2 separate regions of the Homo sapiens genome follow, and region 2 is linked to region 1. The links are contacts of gene promoters, found by promoter capture Hi-C in blood cells and fetal thymus (Javierre and others, 2016). All regions are on one chromosome and are shown on one strand. The core of a region is centred on a gene start or on the middle of the fragment in contact, and the rest is flanking DNA. Distances in the headings are between cores, read along the strand shown.

The links. Contacts are between HindIII fragments. The CHiCAGO score rates a contact against its expected background, and 5 or more counts as called.
Region 2: a fragment that was not itself captured here is called in contact with the fragment with the promoter of ZC2HC1A in region 1 in 2 of 17 cell types (activated CD4 T cells and non-activated CD4 T cells); the score reaches 5.8 in activated CD4 T cells.

What each region holds. Positions count from the first base shown.
Region 1 is chr8:78,664,236-78,668,275 of GRCh38, reverse strand. It overlaps ZC2HC1A (zinc finger C2HC-type containing 1A), which reads right to left and starts at 2,187. Exons shown (of 9, transcript NM_016010.3): 1 at 2,112-2,187. The coding sequence starts at 2,127. It overlaps LOC105375911 (a long non-coding RNA gene), which reads left to right and starts at 2,297. Exons shown (of 4, transcript XR_007060972.1): 1 at 2,297-3,271. RefSeq lists enhancers at 2,034-2,083, 2,048-2,555, 2,556-3,064 and a silencer at 2,154-2,373. The HindIII fragment of the contact is 1,596 bases long and covers 1,177-2,772 here.
Region 2 is chr8:78,556,529-78,560,074 of GRCh38, reverse strand. The region is part of intron 1 of PKIA (cAMP-dependent protein kinase inhibitor alpha); the gene reads right to left. It overlaps PKIA-AS1 (PKIA antisense RNA 1), which reads left to right and starts at 1,572. Exons shown (of 3, transcript NR_125389.1): 1 at 1,572-1,651; 2 at 3,476-3,546. All of the region lies in intron 2 of LOC105375911 (a long non-coding RNA gene), which reads left to right. The HindIII fragment of the contact is 3,325 bases long and covers 1-3,062 here.

The DNA of each region.
Region 1 (4,040 bases), core at 938-3,437:
ATCACTGTATCAATGTTTCTAGAATGAAAGAATGGATGAATTAATGAACGGTAACCTTAAGACTCAGAGTTTGATATTTGCAAGGTGTGATCTCTTAGGGGAGGGAGAGGGGAGAAGGAGGAAGGAGAGAAAGGCACCATCCTAACTTCAACAGAAAATTCTCAAGAGCTTTTATTAGATTGAACTGCTTGAAATTACCAGAATTCAACTGTTTTGCCCTACATAATTTAGGGCAACTTCACATATTTCAACTCAGTTTATCACAATTAAACACATTATAGTTAATGATAGCATCTTATTTTGTAAAAAAAAAAAATCTAAAAGTAAAGGGCAAGCACTATTAACATCATAAGCTGGGCCCTATAACATCATAAGCTGGACCCATAAAATATGCCTATAAATACAGAATCCTACCTTTGTCCACCTATGCAACTGAGTGTCATAATAGGTTTCCATTATATTTTAAAAACATTCGTAGTAAGGTTTCAATAGTAATATCTTAGCACTGTTAAAATGTAAGGTCCACTAAAATGTAGGTTCGATGAGAGTAAAGCTTTATCATTTTTATTCTTTGCTGCAACCTAGAACCTAAAAAGATGCCCATAATAGACATTTATTTAACAACAAATATTTATTGAGTACCTACTTTGTGTCAGACATTGTTTTAGGTGCCTAGGATACATAAGTGAAAAATCAGATGATGATCTTTGTCTTAATAACAAATGTTGAATAAAATAATAAAAATCTGCAAACTGTTCAAAACACTTTATAGATAATATGTAATAAAACCTTATCATATTATATATGATAATCTCATGAGAATTCCATAACCCATGCTTTAATCCCACCAAGATACAAAAGTATCTTGAAAGTAAAATATACTGTACTATCATTACAATTCCTTATTTCATGGAAACTTGAATTATCTTCCAAAAACACATAAGCAAAAAACAAGACCTTCATTAGGCCATAGCATACTGCAGCTGTCCACAAACGGAAAATTATCAGAATCATTTATCAGAGCAAAAGCACGAAATAAACTTCTACTCATGTTATTACATCTGCTTTTTGGTGAATAGGTGACTGAAAAAGTTACCGGCTACCACTTTGCACTTCATCACACAATGTAGAATATTTTACTCCCTGGCATGCAACAATACACAAGACTCAAAAGCTTCTGCTCATTCTTAATTCCAACTGAATCCGTGTAAACTAGGAGACGGGGGAAAGGAGCTAAATCAAGACAATAGGATCTTTCAATTCTGAAGGTTTGTTCTTCATCATAACAAATTAAAAAATCTTGAAACTGTTGTTGCCAATGCTAGTTATTGTGGTTTTTGTCCTTCCTTTGTTTTTAGGTGAATGCTTTCATTACACAGGATAAAATGGGTAAACAGAATAGAGAAAAAGTGAAAGAACTGGGAACAAAGCAAAATCTGGAGTCATGGTTACAGTACAAAGATAAACCCAAAGATAAGGAACCAATACAGGCTCTTCCTCACACAGCGGCCGTGAATAAGTCATCAAATCCTCCGGGTAATCTATTGTACCGGCTCTAAAGCTGGCCAGTGACACTTCCTTAGGAGATGCTCTGACATCCCTCCGACAGAAGATGCTGTCGAAATGTAAAAAGCCGGTTACCTAGGGAAATCGGCCAAGGAATGTCAGGAGCTCGAGGCTGGAGACACACCCCGGGGCTGCAGCACAAAGTGGCCTGTTGGTGTTAAGGCCGTGGACAATAATGGAGAGAGTCCAGTACAAGGAAAACAAAATCTGGCCAGAGACTGGGATCACTAAAAGGGCACTCAGGAGTCAAGCAAGATCAGAAAATGGTAGGAAGAGACGTGCAGGCGTCTTGCCAGGGGCAGGATCTGGCTCCGGGCGGGAAAGCCCAGTTGAAGACCGTCTGAGGCGGGGCAGCCTGGTAGCGTTAGCTCCACCGCATCGGGGACTGTCCGGTTCCCTTCGGCCCCAGCCTCCGGAGGCGCGGCGGGACGCGGCGAGGTCCGCCGCACCGAACCAGCCCTCGCCTTCCTGCTACTGGTGTCCAGGGTCCCCAGCTGTTTCGGGCCCGCTCTAGCCGTCCTGCCCTCATCCCTTCATCGCCTCACCTTCCAGTCCCTCCATCGCGCCACCTCCTCGAGCTCAGCGAGACTCCTTCAGCAGCGCCCGCCACCGCCCAGCTCTGGCTGTAGCAACCCAGCCGCACCTCCCACCCGCTAACATTCCGAGCTCCCATTGGTTCCGCAACTGCGGGGGCGGGGATCCGTGGGGGCGGGGCCGCGGCGGAGGCGAGGTTCCTGCGGTCTCCTCCTGGCTGCCACCCCTGTCCGTCTCTCCGGGTTACTCTCCAGGGAGCCGGGAGCCGCTTCAGGTTGCAATCTGCGATGCAACGGCGCCTTTGTTTGACTCCAGCCTTGTTTTGCCTCATACCTTATCCTCCTATTTAGAGTACCTCAGCACCTCATGGGCTCCGCTTCACCAGTTCCTCAATCAGTCAATGCCTCTGACTTCTAGCCGCCATCCCTCCCAGTGGATACTTTAAGCAGGCAAGCAAACCAAACAAACGCCCAGCACGCTTGCATGCAGCAATCTCCGTTTTCCGGTCTTTGGTCGCATGACTTGACCTCAGCGTATCCCCTACACTTGATCTTCACACACAGCTTCATAGGTTAAGACACTTTTTTTCCAGAGAAATCATACTTTCTATCTGCGATTGTGGAACTGCGATTGCTCTAAGCCCTTGAAAACAGTTTCCTCACCATGAAAGCTTGGGCCAAAAATTAGAAGTGAAACCCAGCCCTCCCTCTGTCTTCTACTCTTGGCCTACCTTGGCCCTATACTTTATCATCCATAAACCAAAACAGTCGCCTGGCCTGACAATGTTTGATCGGGGAAGTTTGAGTTGGGGAATTAACCTACAACCTGACAGAATGAGGCCCGCCCGTCTCTAACAGAGTTCAAAACCTCCTGAAGATGAAAGTAACTTCAAAACTAACTCAGACCATTTTAACGGTTTTGCTTACAATTACCAGAACTACATTTCTTTGAAAATTTGATTTAGCAATCGTAAACAAGCTGTACTGTTTGCTGACTATAGCGTATCTACTGGCAAGTTACCAGTATTAATGTGTTGTCCATAACAAACCTCGGATTAATGTTATTGTTAATCTGTTTAATTGAAGAGTTTAACTTCATATCTAACTTCATCTACTATGAAATCAGTTACCTTCAGGAAGCAGGATTCCTCCTACTCTCCACTCACATGAAGGTATGTTTAAACAAGCAAACACTTGAGGGGGCATCATCTCTTACTGAGAAGGTGCTCCAAGTGCATTTGAATGTGGTAGAGTCCATCTGTTGTGTGGAGCCATGTAAAGACCACTTCAACCATGCCTCAATGACTCCCTCCGCCCTTCCCTGGTTCCCCTGGCTCTTCTGCTTCTCTGAGATCCTGGGCCTCCTTGGCCAACCCATAGCCTTGCAGGCAATAAGCTACTCTAGACTGGGTGCTGCGGAAAGGTCCTTTTTCTTCCTTAGTGCTACTAAGGCAAAGGTAGAATTTTTGGTTGGGAGGGAAGGCCTTTTAAAAGAGCATTAAGGAGAAAAAAAAGCACACAGAAGAAAATACAAAAATAAGGAAGCCATTATTTTACAAATTACAAGTTCTTTCACTGAAGGCAAGACGAATATTGAGTTGGCTGATACCTTATTCGACATAAAATCTACAGTAACATTAAAAATAATAAAAATAGCATTAAAGAATAAATCATGTGAGGCATGTTTTAGGCCATTTTCATATATTCACAAATCTTCAAAAGAAATCTACAAAGTAGATACTACAATCTTCATTTATCAGAATTAAAATGTTCATTTTCTAGATGTCTCAGAGCAATTAATATTTTGTCAATATTTGTATTATTAGTGGATGGTAGAGCTTGGCTACACTCTTGTCTGTTAAATTCTAAAGCCTATGGTGATTTGATTGGGCTCCTCACTCCCTTTCCTTGCCTTGCCTTTTATTATAGCTGCCTCAAGTG
Region 2 (3,546 bases), core at 151-2,650, 110 kb after region 1:
AAAGGCTTGCAAACATGATAAATGAATAGTGAAAGTCAAAATGATATCAAATATGCATGAAAGTAGCATATATATAATTATAAATTACCTTTAGGAATTAATTATAACATTACTTCAGAGAGATTCGTATGATTTATTCCTATGGAGAATGTAGAGTCAGATGATCTAGGTTATCACTTTGGGACTAGGATATCACCAAAAATCTTTATGTTACAACATATGTGATAGAAATGAACACAATTTTACAGGAAGAACTAATCAGATGAATTCAGATTTCATTTGTACTTTGGTATAAATAGATCAAACTGGGTTTTCTCAACTAGATGTATAATAACTACAGATAAAAAGAACTATGCTGGTTTGCCAGAATGTAAAACACTGGCGAAAGTGAGGGGGCTGTATCAATGAGCTCGGGAAAGCAGCTCCATAGCCTCTATCTCCATCACACAGACATTTAGTTCAGATTTGAAAGAGAACTTGAGATCAGTCATTTCAACACATCTCCAAACCAGTTATGTTCAAACATGAAGGGATGGATAGATATCAGTCTATTATTTTTAAACTGCATAAAGGTATAACTCTTCAGTTTTCATCAAAACCACACTTTTTAGGTTATCAGGGTCCACAGTTCTTAAGCAAGCAATGCATGCTTAGTGCTATCTCCCTGCTATAAATAGCTTCTCAGTCTTCCCACCACTGCCCATCCCTTCTCTCCTTAATGTCTTGGTCAAAACCATCCCCCAGGAACCCCTTTCCACTTAATTGCTGATCATGTTGATGTTTTGATCACCTTAGCTACTTCCTAGAGTCGGTAGTATATATGTGAGATTTAACTTTAAAAATACCCATAAAGGGCTGGGCACGGTGGCTTATGCCTGTAATCCTAGCACTTTGGGAGGCCGAGGCGGGTGGATCACCTGAGGTCAGGAGTTTGAGACCACCCTGGCCAACATGGTGAAACCCTGTCTCTACTAAAAATACAAACATTAGCCAGGCGTTGTGGCGCATGCCTGTTATTCCAGCTACTCGGGAGGCTGAGGCAGGAGAATCGCTGGAACCCAGGAGGCGGAGGTTGCAGTGAGCCGAGATGGCGCCATTGCACTGTAGCCTGGGCAACAGAGCAAGGCTCCGTCTCAAAACAAACAAACAAACAAACAAACCCATAATGTATTAAATGCACAGTTTCTAACATAATATGAATATCCAGTAACTGCTGACTAGCATTATTATTATAACATTTACATTAAAACTAATCTGCACTGGTTTAAGTATCGCTTAATGATTGATTCTGTTTCTTTCACACACCTGTTCTTTTACTCCACCTGATGTAAAGGAAATACGTGAACATTTGTTGATTATTAATATGGTTTGGCTGTGTCCCCACCAAATCTCAACTTAAATTGTATCTCCCAGAATTCCCACATGTCACAGGAGGGACCCAGGTGGAGGTAATTGAATCGTGGTCGGGCGGGGGGGAAGGGGGTGGTCTTGCCGTGCTGTTCTCGTGATAGTGAGTACCTCTCACGAGATCTGATGAGTTTATCAGGAGTTTCCGCTTTTGCTTCTTCCTCATCGTCTCTTGCCGCTGCCATGAAAGGAGTGCTTTTTGCCTCCCACCATGATTCTGAGGCCTCCCCAGCCATGTAGAATTGTAAGTCCAATTAAGCCTCTTTTTCTTCCCAGACTCGGGTATATCTTTATCAGCAGCATGAAAACAGACTAATACAATTACCTACAGTGAGAGAGGCAGTGAAAGGTATAGAATTAGTGGAGTTCAAGCCTGAAACTGACCTGGGTTTGAATTCCATCCCTGCCACTTACTTGGACCTCTCTATGCCTCAGTTTCCTTAGTGTTAATTGGAGATAATAGATATTTTAGGGACACTGCAAAGATTATAAATAATTAAACCAATGTTTGGATCCAGAAGCGGTATTCATTACCTGATTTAATGTAAAATATTAGATAATTTGATTTTGTTTTGAGAATCTGACAACTCACTCTGACTGCTCTGCATCCCCTTACTAAAACAACTGTAAACAGCATTTTGCATGTAATTTCAGATTTTTGCTACTACAAAACCAGTTAGTGGAAAAAAGACATCTTAGAGTCTAATTTACATTTATAATTAGCTTAAAACAAAGTGTCACATAAATTTACAAAACCAAATAGTTGGTACAAACAAATCAGACAAAATGTTACAGGGAAACACAGACTACCATCCCGGAGAAGGACAAGCAACATTGTACTACTGTCAAAATTTGGATCAAAACTATGTCTCTGCCAGGTTTCACTTTAACTGGAATTGAAGTTCCTGACATAGCTGTCCCCATCACAGGCATAAATACCCATCAAATAAACTGCAGTTGAACAGCCTCAGTCCCTTTTCTATAAAATGGGTATTTAATAATACCATTTTGACAAGAGCCTTATGAATATTAAGAGAACATAAATAAACTCCCCTAGCAGCTGACAGCCAAGTAATTAATCTTTCAGCCATTTCCTTTCTCTTTTTCCTTTTTTTCCCATGTTCTGAGTTCTTTTACACTTCATGTCCCACAATGCTGAAGTAATTGAAATGCTTTTACTCAGATAATCTCATACAACTTCTAGCATAATAAACAAGGAAAGTTTAATGCATTATTGTTTAAACAATGTCATTATTCTTTTTGGTAACCTGATTTTTCCAAATATGTAACTCTTTGATTCTCCTATAATATAGTATGTCTTATCCATGGGCACAAATTGAGTGTGTGTCAGAAATATTAAGTCCCTGGAAAACTACCAGTGGTGCCATTTTGGGTTCTATTTATATGTTAACAGCTTCCCTAAAACCAAGTTATTATCATTTCTACTCTTCTTCTGTTTTAATGCCCTCAAAATGTGGCTTCTAATTAGTAATTATATTAATTGGCGTCACATTCATTCTTGTTTGCTTTTTTCCTGATCATAACAAGAATTATCTGACTGTGAAGTTGGTGAGATGGGCTTTCTGATAAGGAAGGTTAGGAGGAAAAAAATGACAAGTAGGGTAACATATGCACATACAAAATTAGAGGAAGCTTCAGCAGTAACAAAATAGTGAGAGTCAATTAGTAGGAAGATTTTGTCATGTGTTGCCATTAATTGACCAACTAGAGTAATTAGACTCACAAATAACAGAAAGCAAAGAGTGGCAAATCTATCGTTCCTGCCAGCTTCTTCTGCTAGTCATCAGAACAATTATCTTCTAGTTTATGAAAGGATAAAGATGTAGTATTCAAATTTAAATGTTACCAATATAAGATATGGAGATATGTGAAACCTACTATAGTATCTTCATAAACATAGTTTTATAGCATCATAAATTTCACAGTAAAATTATCCATGAGAAATGTAAAACTCAAACAAAGTTCAGTAATATTTTAAATCTCAAAAATTAAAAAGAATTGCTGACTGTGTCTTGGCACACTTTTCTGTGTTTGTGAAATATGTTAGAGCCAGCCTGTTTTTGATGAAGAGCAACTGTACTGGAGAGAAAGCCTGTATTCATATTCATCGTCATCAGG